2 separate regions of the Homo sapiens genome follow, and region 2 is linked to region 1. The links are contacts of gene promoters, found by promoter capture Hi-C in human tissues and cell types (Jung and others, 2019). All regions are on one chromosome and are shown on one strand. The core of a region is centred on a gene start or on the middle of the fragment in contact, and the rest is flanking DNA. Distances in the headings are between cores, read along the strand shown. Region 1 holds the start of WDR17 (WD repeat domain 17). Region 2 overlaps LOC107984113 (a long non-coding RNA gene).

What was found. The method cuts DNA at HindIII sites, captures the fragments that hold promoters and counts their contacts. A contact is called where the count stands out against the background at its distance.
Region 2: a contact is called between a fragment that was not itself captured here and the fragment with the promoter of WDR17 in region 1, in 2 of the 25 tissues and cell types used here (dorsolateral prefrontal cortex and hippocampus).

Annotation. Positions count from the first base shown.
Region 1 is chr4:176,063,196-176,070,939 of GRCh38, reverse strand. It overlaps WDR17 (WD repeat domain 17), which reads right to left and starts at 5,099. Exons shown (of 29, transcript NM_181265.4): 1 at 4,861-5,099. RefSeq lists a silencer at 4,844-5,223. The HindIII fragment of the contact is 11,750 bases long and covers 446-7,744 here.
Region 2 is chr4:175,916,541-175,924,284 of GRCh38, reverse strand. All of the region lies in intron 3 of LOC107984113 (a long non-coding RNA gene), which reads left to right. It also overlaps a transcript of GPM6A not described here. Among named protein-coding and RNA genes, the nearest start is that of GPM6A, 110 kb to the right of the region's middle. The HindIII fragment of the contact is 5,293 bases long and covers 386-5,678 here.

The DNA.
Region 1 (7,744 bases), core at 3,850-6,349:
TTCATGTTCTGGGAAAAGGTGTTAAAAATTATTTTGGCAAGTCAGTTTGGGAAAACCAGCAAAGAAAATCAAATGGATGCTTAGAAGCTTGAATATTAAAAAACAAAAACAAAAACAAAAACAGGGCCAGTCACAGAGGCTCATGCATCCCAGGACTTTGGCAGGCCAAGTTGGGTGGATCGCTTGAGCCCAGGAGTTCCAGATCAGCCTGGGCAACATAGTGAGCTGTCTTCTCTACGAAAAGTAAAAAAAAAAAAAATTAGCCAAGAGTGGTGGTGCGTGCCTGTAGTCCCAGCTGCTCAGAAGGCTGCTGTGGGGGGATTGATTGAGCCTGGGAGTTCAAGGCTGCAGTGAGCCATGATCACACCACTGCACTCCAGCAGGAGACCCTGTCTCAGAAGAAAAAAAGAAAAGAAAAAAGAAGTGGAAAAAAAGGGAAAAAAGGATCTACATAAACTAACTAAACTCGAAACTTTCTTCAATATATGCATTCAATATATTGACAGAGGCCTGAAATAAGTCTGATTTTAATTTGCTAAGTAAAGGGCTGTATTACCTAAGGTAGGGCCCAGGCACAGATCTGATAGGTTGGTAATCTACATATTAGTCTGCCTAAGTCAAATATTACGCTCTGAGCCAACATAAAATTCCCCCTAAACATGAGCTAATGAATTAATTTTGAAGGTGAGACATTATGCCCAAAAAGCTACTATTGATATATAAATGTTAACGAAACGTATCCACTATTATATTTTCAGGAATAAATTCATTTATTTAGTAGTTCATGGTACTCCCAAGTAAAGCTTCAGAAGTAGAACATAAGCCAGCTTTTCCCTTATTAATTTTGAGAACATAATTTTTATGTGTTTAGTGTCCTCATTAACAGAATAACGGTGTTAGAGTAACTGGTCTTAAGGATCCTTCTATCATAAATTCCAAAATGACCCCTTCAAACCTGTTTACCTTAAAAATAAAATGTTGCATAACTCTTTTCATTAAAAGTCATCCATAATGTTTTATCTTAAAGAATCAAACTTAATTAAATGTTAGCTATTTCTTATTAACCAACTATTCATTTTTTTGAGACTCCATGTGGAGCTGTTTGTATTGTAATGAAGGGTTTTTTTAATAGCATGTTAAACACGAGTGCTTTGTGTAATAAAAATTATTTTCTACTTTCCGATTTGAAAGTAAGTTTTCTGTGTGCGTGATATGAAATTGAACTTACTACACATCATTGTAAATGAGTCTGCCTGGGACACTGGTACATGCTTACAACTAAAAAAAATGGGAAGAATCTGGAAGAAGAAAACAATAAACCTAAGCATAAGAAAAATTGTTTAAGGACCTCAATCTTGAGTTCTCCATCTCAGAACATTTGAATGTACAAAACAAGTATTGACTGTTATAACATCTTCACTGACACATGGAAATTTATTTCTTACACTTTTGCTACAATTTATCCGAACATGACAATTATCAATCATCCTTATCATAGCAAATAACATTGTTAAATTACCTCCTGTATTATCTTAATTATAGATTTATATTACTGTCTATTTCTACAGTACATTTTTTAAATTAGAATGTAGAATTACAGAATTTTATAAGACAGCTTACTGAACAATACTTTGTAAGTACATTTAACATAATAAAAAGTAAGACTTTTATCAATATATATATATAAATTATTTTCCTCAAGTAGCTGATAATGTGACATCTGGAAGGCAGGTGCCAGCTGTGGCTCCAATATCAAGTTCTTTTTTTTTCTTACAAAATCTAGCCTATTTGAAATGTTTGACTAGTCACTGAAATTATACCTGTCTAGTCACTGAAATCAGATGAAAACAACCTGAACTCTGCCTTCTAATGTGACAGCCCATGCTTTAAGCATGGAAACTTTTCAAATCTTTCTAATTAATCGTGATGGGAATTTTTCTTTTACTATACAAAGCTGATCATTTTATATTATTTCTACCAATTTTTATTACCAAAGTTGCAAGTCCTTCGTGAACATTTTAAGTAAACTCAAATAAGAAAAATGTTTTTCTCTAGGTTTTGTTTCCTTATAGAGTAGATTCTTTGGGAGAATTTCTAAAATTCTCTTCAGGTATCCGTATCTAATTTCTTGCTCACAAATTTCAAGGAATAGTTTTATCAACAATGAAAGAATAATCACGATACTATTTTAACAGGATAAAGCACAGTCTTGGGTATCAAAAAGTACCAACCAAATCTTAAGTTTCATATGTTTCTGATACAAAAGAAAAGGAGCATGAATTAATAAAAAATCCCTTCCAATATCCTCCTTTTTTTCTTTTTCTTTTCTTTAATTTTTTTGACGTTGTCTTGCTCTGTCGCCCAGGCTGGCATGCAGTGGCGCAATCTTGGCTCACTGCAACCTCCGGGCCTCCTGGGTTCAAGAGATTCTCATGCCTCAGCCTCCCAAGTAGCTGGGATTACAGACGTGCACCACCACGCCCAGCTAATTTTTGTATTATTAGTACACATGGGGTTTCACCATGTTGGCCAGACTGGTCTCAAACTCCTCACCTCAGGTGATCCGCCTGCCTCAGCCTCCCAAAGTGCCGGGATTACAGGTATGAGCCACCGCACGCAGCCTATCCTCATATGATTTCTATAAATTAATATAATTTCGATGAAATCTCTGTTCCTGAAGACGTACTGGAAGATACATGACTTCACTTTAATATTTCCATCTGTTCAATGGAAGAGGTATACAAAATGTAAAATGAGATAATTCAGCAGTGGTCAAAAGTAGCAATGATGCTTCCATATACATAATTATCATGAATAGCTGGGTAAACTCTTAAGTATTCAGTATTACAATTCAGTAATCTGATAAAGCGTTACCTTTCTTGCATATGTTAGATTTCAAAGAAATTCTGGAATATAGGATGAAAATGTGAATCCTTCAAAACTGTCAGAATTACATTTTAGTCGTCATTAAAGTATTTAGGCAACAAAATCAGGTACTCTGGAGAATTTACACATTTCATTAATAGTGACAACCTAATCATTCATGTTGGACTTCTAGTATCCATCAGGGTAAAACCATAAAACAAACAAACAGAAACCTGTTCTTAAACTTCTCCAAGTAATTAAAAAACTGCCACTGGCCCTGTCCCTCCTTTCCCAGACTAAAGGATACAAGATAGAGTCTGTAGAAAACAGCAACAACAAAAGCAATCTAGCCCTAGTCTCCCCTCTACTGGGAGCATTGTTTTTCTGGCCTAAATTAATTTATGGCTTTCTAATCTATGGAATTATTTATGTGACTAATGGGTAACTTAAAAATATTTAGAACACCACTATTTATCATTAGAAATAAGAAGAATAAAGAATGTTAAAACTTTCAAGTAAGCATATTTAACGTCTTCTTCAGATGTCCACAGTTTTTTAAGCAGTTCTATTAATATCAACACAAGAGAAAGTCAGAACAATGTAAACAATAACATTCAACTAGTTATTTTTACATAATTACGTTTGCAGAACTCAAGAGCTTTACTTTCCGTATATGCCCTTTGAAATAAGTCATTGCTTTAAAACTTCCCAGGAACTCTAAAGCTACCATTTGTAACATTAATCTCCAAACAATCCAGTAAAGGATGTTTCCCAAAATATTAACGAATTGACAACTTTTCAAAAGCACTTAATAACTATATTTAATTTTAGATGATAGGAGGGGAAAGGTTCTCAGACCACCTATCTCAGACGTCTGCCTTCAAAACAGTTAGATATAACTATATCCATTTTCTTGAACACTTAGGCCAGTGAGGCAGAATCTCAAAAGGATGTAAGAGTGCTTTCTCCACAGAGTTTGTTTCACCACCCGCCCAGCATCAGCTCCTGGCAAGCAGGGTAATGATAAGGCATAAATCTACAAATAAATTAATGCTTAAACTCTTGTGGAGTTCAAATTTATAAATTCTCATAAATTCATTGTCATTTATTTTCTAATTTTTACAACGCAGAAATGTTATTAGAGTGCTAAGAACGGCAACTATAATCTCACATTGTTGGGCTTTGGCCGTTTCGTATCCTTTTACAACGAACTTGTGTTTTTTTGATAGTTTTCTCTAAAGGGTATTTATGAAAGATTCAGAAATGTAGTATCTCTCTTCAAACCCTTGTTAAATATATATAGTATATATGTATATATTAATATGCAAAATAATTTATTTTTGATGCATGGTCGGACTTTTCATTACTTTTCATTCGAATCAATTGCTTTTAATTAATATATTTAAAAAGTCTCCTTAAATTGTTTGTTCCTTTCAATCTTTGCAAGCAAAACAAGTCTGATTTTGGAGAGGGGAGGACAGCAAAGATTCTATTTTACGATCTACTTAATAAATAGTATACCTGCCTTATATCCAATACCGTCTTTTTTCTGGAACGCATTTCCTTTTTACTCAAACCTTTCTTAGTACAACCCTACTAATAAGTCCATCTTCAAAGGGGTAAATGATCTATACAGAAGTGTCTGGCCGGCGGAGGGATGAGAACAGCAACCTAGGCTCTAGACATATACTTAATAGCCATAAAAATAAAACAATGTCCCTCGAAATGTCCACAGTTTACACTGCAATGGTAGTTTAGATACATAAATATTCGCTGCTTGCTGTGCCTTGTAAGAATCAGGTGTGTGGCTCTAAAACTCAGTTGATTATCTCATCAGGCACCATGGTGTGCAAAGCCCTGCAGGACGTACATTACCCTGGTCCGCGATCACAGGGAGGTCAGAGCCCCTCTCGCATGACGCCGCGACAGTTCCAGCATCACCCACATCAATCCTGAGCTTGCCTTGGTATCTCTGCGGCCCCACCGGCTTCTTACCTGGAGGAGGAGGCGGCTGCAGCGGCGGACAGCGGAAGGTGCTGAAGCCGGCGGGCGCAGCTGCGAGGCGAGCACCACCAACGCGCGGACCCTCCCCGCCCTCCCCGCCTGCTCGCTCAGGGCGCCCGGGGGCGGGGCGGCCGGGCCCGCGGGCTCCGAGGGGCGGGAAGCGTGCTCCGCAAGCCCCAGCGCGGAGCCACGATGGAAGGCGCCGCGAGCCCGATCTCCAGGGTCTGCCCCAGAGGCCCACGTGACAGCTACACAGGTCGCTGATTGGAGCGCCCGAGAGGGGGAGGCGGAAGTGGCTCGTGACCCTTGGAGACTAGGCTGAGGGAGAAGTGGTTACCTGGCAACAGAGAAAGTGTGTTGAAGGCGCAGCTCCTCCGTACTGGAGCGAGGCTTTGGGCAGAGGGTTTGCACTGAGGCTGAAAGTGGAGGAAAACGGTGAACCATCAGCGTTCTCACCACCTAACACATTTTATAGCGAGTCTGCACTTTCTAGGAAAATGAGTCAAATATACAGTAAGTCAGTCATCCTGTCTCTTTCTTGAGGGACCTGGAGGAGGGACTTGAACCAGTGCCTGGAATGTGAGTGCAGAATGCTGTCTCGCCTGCACTTCATTATTGTCTGATTGGGCCCAAGAAGGTCTGTGGGAGAGCTCAATGGATAAGATTATTTGTTTATATTAATCGAGTTGTATGTGGTTAATGTATCTGCCTTCACAAAACTGACATTTTCCCTGTGGGATCTGGTTGAATGGAAGTGCTGGATGTTGTCATTCCTACTGGATTCTTCACATCTCTGAAATATCTTCACTACCTGTGGCCTTTATCCAACACACTAGAGAGAATAAGCCTCGACGTACTCGAAACAAAGTGTATTTAATGACATCTATCGAGAATTAATTATACTCCACTCTAAATAGTTAATAAATGAATGGTCGACCTCAACCAGAGAAAGTCCCTGGGCCTAATTCTTACCTTCCTATGCAGTAGATTTTAATGCTCCTTTTTTCCAAAATATTCTCTGCAGAGACGAGTACCTACCACAGCACTCAATATTCTATATTGTAAATTAAAATTAACTTAAATGTTGGATTTCCATATAAAGAATAAACTTGTTAAAGCTAAAATCAGTTCTTACAACTCCGTCCCCTATATTCTAACAAAGTATCTGATGAATAGCAGGTCTTCAATTAATTCTTGATGGATAGATGGATAAAGAAAGAAAGAAATTAGCACATAATCTACCAGAGAAAGTATAAGGGCAATAACTAAATATAACTCAATGTGTTAAGTACTAAAATAGGGTTACATAAAAGTGCTATGAGATGATTTCAGATGAGGGAGGCAGAACTTTTTCTTCCAAGGTATTCAGAGAAGCTTTCAATATGATTAGTATTTGAGCAGGGACTTATAAATAGGTAGAATTTCACCTGATAAAAAGGGGAAAGTGTATACTATGCAGCAGGAGCAGCATTGCCAAAAGCATAAAGTGGGAAAAAATAAACGATTGATGTAAATAAATTTGATGTTTTTGCCTTCTCCGGAGTTGGGGATGTGAATCCAAAGATAAGAAGGAAGATGGAAATTGGCAAAAGACTGTACTAGAAAAATAAGAAAACTTGATTGGGAAAGATGCAGAATTCTATATATGGGTTAGGCTTTAACCTCTAAACCAAAGGAAGAGATTGAAGTTTATAAAATCAGTGCTTTTTCATCAAGAAAGACACCTTGGAAACATTGGAGATACATGGGATGCAGGAAGATGAAGAACATGGTCTGTTAGGAGAAAAATTCAGTAGTTCATGGGAAAAGATGCTGATGACCTGAGTTAAGACAATGAAAATAAGAATAGCGAAGAGGGAAAATCACAAGAAACATTTCTGTGAAAACAGACTATAGTTTTCATTTATGACTGATATTTGCTAGGTATAGTGCTGAATAGTCAATGGTGTACATGAAGAGAAAATGCTGAAGATACAACGTCTAGCTTAGTCCATCGGTTGGACGGAAAAAATCTTTTATGTTTATTTTGCTCATAATGGCTCCAGCTCTCCAGTTAAGAAACAAAAAACCGGCCGGGCGCGGTGTTTCACTCCCGTAATCCCAGCACTTTGGAAGGCCGAGGTGGGCGGATCACCTGAAGTCAGGAGTTTGACGGCAGCGTGGTGGTGAAACCCCGTTCCTACTAAAATACAAGATGAGCTGGGCGTGGTGGCGGGCACCTGTACTTCCAGGTCCTCGGCAGGCTGAGGCAGGAGAATGGCGTGAACCCAGAAGGCGGAGATTGCGCCACTGCACTTTAGCCTGGGTGACAAGAGTGAGACTCCGTCTCAAAAAAAAAAAAGAAAAAAAAGAAAAAGGAAAAAGAAAGAAACATAAAATTGAATGAGACAACTGAAATTATCTAGTTGTGCACTCATAATTTAAAGATGAAGGTGTTTAAATCTCCAGTCATATTAGCAGCAGATTTTGATAGAGTGATCCCGGTCTCCCAGTTCAGGACTCTTATTCCTTTACCAGAATTTAGTTCATTCCTTTTGAACAGATTTAAATAATCACAACTATAGTTAGATTAGATCTAGAGGAACAATATACCTAATTTATAAAACAAAGATCTCTTTACTCTGATTTTTTATTCTTTTATTCAACCAGTATTTAATGTCATATACTCACCTCACAAAGAAAAAATTGTCAGTCACTTAGGCTGACTGACATTTTCAGGGCAATCATTAGTTCTTAGCACTGAGTACCCGGAGTTCTTCATGATTAAATTTAAAAGCAGAGCGATTAGGGAAGCCAAATGACTCCAGTCAAATTCATCTTCAAGGATAGATAGACATGTTCTATGAGTACAATGGCTTTGAAAAGGAAGTTCAAT
Region 2 (7,744 bases), core at 1,783-4,282, 140 kb after region 1:
TTTAATTATACTGCCTGCTGTTTCTGTAAGGTGATTTGAGTAATATTTCATTTGGCGAACGTCAGCAATAAAGACAGGTCACTGCTAACCTTTAGATTTAAGCATGTGTTAAAATGAGAGCTCTAATTGTTGCATAAGATTCCCACACGCTACTAATATGGTCGTGTCAGAAACAGGAAGCAGGAAGTAGAAAGTAGAGAGCTACCAAATGCATCTTTGCTTATTTGAGTGCAACTATTAATAATGATTATTTATTTGAAAGGAAATACCTAGGACAAATACTCGAATAGGACTATTCTAGGCAAACCTAGATGATCCCAGGCAAATCAGGAATGATGACCATTTTTACTCTTCATGCTTGTTGTCTTATGATATCAAGATGGCTGAGGCAATGCCAGCCATGAGGACTTGATTCAAAAGCAGAAAGATGAGATTGGGCATGATGGCTCACAGCTGTAATCCCAGCACTTTGGGAGGCTGAGGCAGGAGGATCTCTTGAGCTCAGGAGTTGGATACCAGCCTGAGCAACATGATGAGACCCTGTGTCTACAAAAAATACAAAAATTAGCTGGGCATGGTGGTGCATGCCTGTGGTCTCAGCTACTTGGGAGGCTGAGGTGGGAGGATGACTTGAGCATGGGAGGCAGAGGCTGCAGTGAGCCAAGCTCACGCCACTGCACTCCAGCCTGGGCAAGAGAGCCCGATCTTGTCTTAAAAACAAACAAACAACAACAAAAAAACACAAAGCAACAAAAAAAACCCCAAAACTGCAGGAAGGTGAGCATGGAGTATTGGAGGCTTGGAACCTTCCCCTCCATCACCGACTTCTGCTCACACTTCATCTGCTGATGAGGCAGGTATATGCTTGCCTCTCACTATTCAATGTGTGTTACTTTCCCAGGTATCTCGTAGCCAGAACTTGAACTCTAAATTCAATGTGCTCATACACATTCCCATGGCTCTCTACCTTTGCAGTAAAATATTCTTCTAAAGAAAAAACACTCTCAAGTTGTTAATCTTTTCACTTGTATGTTGTGTATATATATATATATATATATATATATATATAAATCATGTTATGAAATGTCAGGGACTATAAAGATTGTCTTTGACAAAGTTTGTAATAACTGTTTAACCTATACCTTAGCAAAGATTCAGCATTTATATTTTCTAGAAAAAGATTTATAAATCAATTTTTATATGAATAATATAGTATCTACATATGAAGTCATGTTATTATGATATCCTAGACAAATAACAAGCGTGGATTATATTTTAGTTACCAGTACAGATAAAAATGAGCTACAAGATGTACTGATTAAATTATAGGGCAATTGTAGTGGGCAATGATGTGTTTCTGTTTATAACTGCTAATACAGTATCTCTTTTCATCAGTTAATGAAATGAAGAAAAGATAGGAAAAGAAAAGTTGAAAGCTTTTTCATATTCAATTAAATTTTATGTTAGGTAGATTTAAAATTACCAGTAGCTAGAGATTTTTGCTTTAGAGTTTGTCAGAGTTTTATAATGTAAGTGTTACTGTAAGCCCCAAATAAACTCATCTTTTTCCAGACTTTGACTTCATTCCACTAGAAGGGAAATCAAATGAGCTAGTTTCATCTATGTAGAGATGTTCAAATTGGGCTTCTTGAATTGCTTTCTTCCTTTTATTTCATTATACCACCTTGGAAAAGTTTTCATTTCTCCAATATCAGATTTCTTCTTTTTGGTGTGAGTTTCAGAGCAGAGGTAAGTCTGGAAGCCTTTGGGAACCTTTCCAGTTTGGCTTCTATCTACATACAAGAATAAGGTAATTTGTACTTCCTGACTAATACCTTAGGATCTTTGAGGGCTCTGAGATAATTATGGAGCTGGACTAATATCAGGCTGAAGAGTCCAAGGGAACTTTTAGCATAAAGATGTGGAGGAGGTAAAAATCTATTAATGTGGACTGATTGCTGACATCAGGATACTCAAGAAGACCATTGTGGGACTTATAGGACATTTGGGTATCATTATGTGTTAACAGAAATTCCCTAAACACTGCTTTAGCTTGGAGAGGAAGCTAACATGAATTGAGGGTCTAACATGTGTCAGGTATTTCACATTACCTTTTCTCTTACAATCTTCACATTAACCCTTCACATTAATCCTGATGTATTAGAAGCTCCATTTTACATAAGCATATTTTACCCCACATTATGAATCATGTAAGTATTAGGTAGGCAAGCAGGATTTAAGCTCATCTCTCTTGGTCTTCAAGGCTTGTGTTCAGTTACCACACAAACTGGGTCTTCTATTACTCCCTGAGAAGCAGATTACCCTCCCATTCTAGTTCTAGTGACCTGGATTATTGCCCAAGAGAAATGAAGTACTGAAGAAGGACAGCCATCCTATATAGACTTCCTGTACCAGCTGTATAAGGCTAATATAATTTGTGTTGCCATTTTTGTTAGCTGTTTTTGGAAATATGGTACACTCCAATAAGTAAATGTAAAATTCCACTCCAAAAACAAAGGCAAGAAAGCTAGTGCAGCAAACAAGGTGATGGCTCATGGTCAGGATTTGAATACTTTCTGTGGTGTAAAATACATCTCACTCTATTCTTGCATACAAAACTGGATTTTCAAAATGCATTAAATTTACTGAATAAACAAAATGAAGGCATAATTCTATTTTTTCCTAGGAATTATTTGATGCCTTTGCTATTTCATCTTATTTAGCAGGTTATGATTATGTAATCTTATTTATATTTCATTTTTTTTCTTTGGGAATGATGGTCCATGATTTTTTTTTGGCAGGATCATGCGTGGATTTACTTAAAGACTCTGATTAAAATACTGAAATTCTCTATCCATATATGAACAAAATTATGTTTCCACTGTCTTTTTCAGTGCTCTAATGAATTGGAAAAAGTGCATACAGAGTGTATAAGAAGCAAAGCCAAATTTGACATTTAAGTGAATTTGAGATTAAGTGATTGAGATGGAATATTATTTTTTGAGATTAGATAATTGAAGATTGGAGATGATTTTTTTTAAATAGATCACACTGAATATTAAAAAGGAAGATTCTGAATCTTTTGTTATTGAAAGTTATTAATAATTAAGTTGACACTATAAAGATTTCAGTGTTAAAATTAAGTTGACATTATAAAGATTTCAGTGTGAAATTCCAAGTAATGTGAAATATCACATTAAACATATAAACAGATTGGTTAAAGATAATCCTAATTTTCTTCATGATGGAAATTATTTTCTTATTTATAAATATACTACTACTATTGGAGTTATGTTTCCTCATCTATTGTAGAAGCATATGCTTTGACAATGTTCTGATGCAAGAACATATTTATAATTGATCACACATGTCAATATAATTCAATAAAGAGCAATAATATTTCAGAGACTTTTAGAGTATATTCAAAGCATTTTTTTTTTTTTTGAGACAGATTCTCGCTCTGTTGCCCAGGCTGGAGTGCAGTGGCACAAGTGAGCCACCACCGCCTCCCGGGTTCAAGTGATTCTCCTGCCTCAGCCGCCTGAGTAGCTAGGATTACAGGCACGCACCACCGCACCTGGCTAGTTTTTTGCATTTTTAGTAAAGACGGGGTTTCATCATGTTGCCCAGGCTAGTCTCGAACTCCTGAGCTCAGGCAATCCACCTGCCTCGGCCTCCCAAAGTGCTAGTATTACAGGCATAAGCCACCACGCCCAGCCGTATAATTCTTATGAACAGTAGTTTAAGTATTGTTTCTGTGAACATAGTTTGAACTCAGTAAGTGACTAAATAACCAAATTATATCATCATCTAGATTAACACTACCAGTGATATTAGTTACTAACATTCTTTGAGTGCTTGCTGTATGCATGGAACAGTTCTCAGTTCTTTATTTTTTTGTGTCATTTTATAAGACCATTTTAAAAAGTAATTAACCCTTTTATACTGGTAAGAGAATTAAGCACAAGAGAGGATAAGTGACTTGTTTGGGCTAACACAACTGGTAGCAGAGGTGGGATCAATTAAACATTATGTCCTAAATTCCTGCCAGACATGTAGGATCCCAGTGGCAATAATAATATCAGTAGTAATTAATACTGATTCTATTGTATGTTGCCTTCCTGGAAAGGACAATTTCCCCTTCTGTTCACAAGCATAGAAACACACATACAGACATAAACATACTCACATGCACAATTGATGGCGTAAGCCAAGCTCCATCACCTTTAGAGGTTACTTTCCTTTTATGACCAAAGATGGCCAGACATGAGAAGATAGAAGGAAGAGTCCACTAGAGTAAGATTCTCTTTGCTTCACAACGTCCTTGATGGAAGTCTAGACAGGAGATAATGATTTGAACCATCTTTCACATAGATGGTGCTTTTTAATCTGAAACACATGAGGAAATTTGGGGGGCTACATAGCTATCCATTACAGGGGAGTCCTGAGGCAGCAGTAAGATTTCAGACTGAATTGGATCCCTACTTGGTTATAGTTAGAGCTCCTTGTCCATAACTTGGTCAATAACTGTACCCAGCTTCATCACAGCTTGGGAAATGTGACCATTTAGGAGTGTGTCCAGTTGTAAATGGGAATTCTGTTAATGTGAGAGAGAAGGAGAGAATGGATGTTTGAAAGGAAATTAGCAGTCATGGGCTCACCTATTGACTACTTCTGTTTATTAAAGATGAAAGCTTTGGCCTAATTTTTCTTTATTCACCCTTGCATACTGGTAGTTACAAGCCTGCTGGAAAGTCATTGGCAAACTTCACTGATGGTTTTAATTAAGTAAGGGTAAGTTTTGTTGGTCCAAAAATAAAAAGACCCTCTATTTTTAAGTTAGAAATGTTTATGTAAAAGTGTCAAAAGCTCTTTAAGCTTCTTCTGGCCCATTAATCTTTTTTGGCCGGGGATCTTGCTGGATTAAAAAGGTGAGATCCTGGATTTAAGCAGGTTATGGTGGAGTGAGACCCACAAGTCACCTTTTATGATACACAGAATTTTTAGAAGTACCTCAAAAAAACTCATTATATTTTACTAGACTGCCAGGGACCTCATTTGTGCCAGAAAAGTCATGAGAAGGGGAAAAAAAAGAAAAATCATGAGAAGGGTTGAGTTCTTTTTATAAGTGATGGGCAGCAGTCCTTAATGAGAAGATATTTTAATTAGCTATACAGTTAAATTAAGTGTGCTGAAAGGATACCCTATCTTATCGTAATGATAAAAGGCAATTTTCCCACATTCCCTAGTTTTATATCAATTTATTAGTGAGTTCAGTTTTGTTTCAAAATATAAGACTATAAAACAAGTATATAAAAATCTTTCTCCATATTATTTAAATATATTTTATAAGATAATAAGACAAAAACCAGTAGCTCATAAAAAGTAAAGGATATAAGCAGACAAATCATAAAAGAATGCTGTATAGATGTGATGATAATTCCTTCTTATTAATAACTAGAGACATAAGATAAAACATGTGATATGCTGTTGTTTCACAAATTGTTAAAAGAAATTTAAATATACATTTCTGCATTTCAGACACCCTACTGGAAACACATGTTTTTGACAAAAAGAATTAAGAAACATGATATGCAGTTTTCTTAGGAAACTCCAGCAAACTAAATTAACAGCTTTTCAGCCAAAGATCTTAGACTAAGGAAATGCTATCTTTAGTTCCAAGCATTCTATGGTCTTGCTAAACTGTCTTCCACAGGAAAATGGGAAACAATAATTTAAGATATTTTCCAGAATTCATTTGTAGCTTTTTTTTTTTGTTGTTAAGGACAGGAACTGTATCTGCACCTTCTTGATGAATACTAATTTTTCTTAAAACCTATTGCGATGTTATTTTGTGTGCCTCATTTCTTTTCCCTACTTAAAGATTTTTCTTTTCCAATTCTATTTTTTCTCCTAAAGCCTCTTCCACATGTAACTCAACAGCTGCTGCCCGCTTTATCAGCTCCATTACCTAAGCAAAACTTTACATATCCTTAAAATCTGACAAATTCCTAGCATATATTTTTGTAGTTTCTCCAATGTTTTTTAAAAACATTCATAGCTTGCACATATGGTTATCATCAAGAGTGTCTGAAATATGTCTTCATTATAAAGTTTCTTTTTTTTTCATTTTTCTGTCCATGTTCAATCTCAGGTTTTTAAGTTATGCGTGTAAAATATGCTCTCTATAGAAATTTTCATTGTGGGAATCAAGATTTATATAATATGTTAGGAAAAGAATTATGGTAATTTACTCTTTTATCTTGATGGGATTTATCACTAAAGCAGCTATTTCAGTTACTATTTAAAATGAGATAGACTTTTTAAAAACTGTTTTAAATTTTACTAAATAGGGAACCGGGAAAGAAGGATTCAGTTATTTAAAAATTATTATAATAGTATATAATCTCTTACAAATTACACATTGACTTATAAGGCTACTTAACATTGTTGTCTCTCTAGTGTTTTCTTTAGAAAGCTTTTTTTCTCCTTAAGTTGAGATTTCTTAAGCCATTTGGTATTATTTTTCCATTGTCTTTTTATGTGTTTTTTGCACCGACTCATTCCTCCCACATACCAGATCTCACGCATTTTAACATGTCCATCCTGGATTATTTTGACAACCCCCTCCCCATTTGGTGAATGTTGTATCAAGGAGGATGAATGAAGAGTAATCATCTGTTAGGTGGATTTTTAATAGCCGCCCACACTACTATGGTAACGTACATGGACAGATGTATAATCCAGTCAGCCTGTTTCTGCCTTCTTTGTTCTTGTTAGGTCATATGTTACCTTTTTTTGATAGGAATTCTTTTGCTATCTCAAGCCCTTCGTTTCATTGTTTTGCTTATTTGTTGCTAATATTCCTTTTCTTGCAACATTAAATCAGCAGCAGCATCTGTAGCAGGGTCCTTCAATGCAGGCAAGGGGCAGTGCTTGGGGAAGAAGATGGCTCTTATAAGGAATGTTAAAATGGGGAGAGCATCTGAAATTTCAGGATGCTTAAAGATTAAAAAAAAACAAAACAAAACTGTGATTGTGTGGAGGGAGGAGGGTAAGAAGCTGCCTTGGGACCCATTCGCTTGCTTTACCAAGGTGATGCCTTCTTGCTACCCCCACCCGCTGGAGGAAAGGTAGCAAGGCCAGTGACCTGCTCCAGCCTCCCTGTTCAATGGACTTCTATAGACGGATGATATTTGCCAGGACTTAATCGCATCAGCAGGATCCTTTTAACAGGATATCCTTAGCTAAAAGAATGCTTATAGTAAATCAACCCTGGGTCTATGGATTTAAGAGGTAGGAGAATGCCCATAAACAGCAAAACACTTTGGGGGTATAAAAAGATGTTTCATAACTTAAAAATTCTCTTTTATGTGAATAATAATCTGCAGAACCTCTCCCGCACCTCACCTGTTATTCTTGGCCAGGAAAACTGTGTTTTTAATGTGGAAGGAGGGGCTTGGGGAGTGTCATGGGATCTAGACTTGGTTACCTGAAACGCTTGACTGCTCCTATCCTTGAAAATGTTAGTAAAGCTTGAAACTATGTGAGACCTCTGATTGATTGCATCTGATTCTATAATTAGAAAGTGTGTGTTAGCTCAGATTATTATATTTCCCCCCATAATGTATACACTCTTCAGGCCAGCCTCCTGGGTTATTTTCTCTCACAGGGATGCCCATGGTGTGATACAGAATGAAGGAAATAAAATATAAATTTAGCACTAGTCTCAAGAACTCTGATT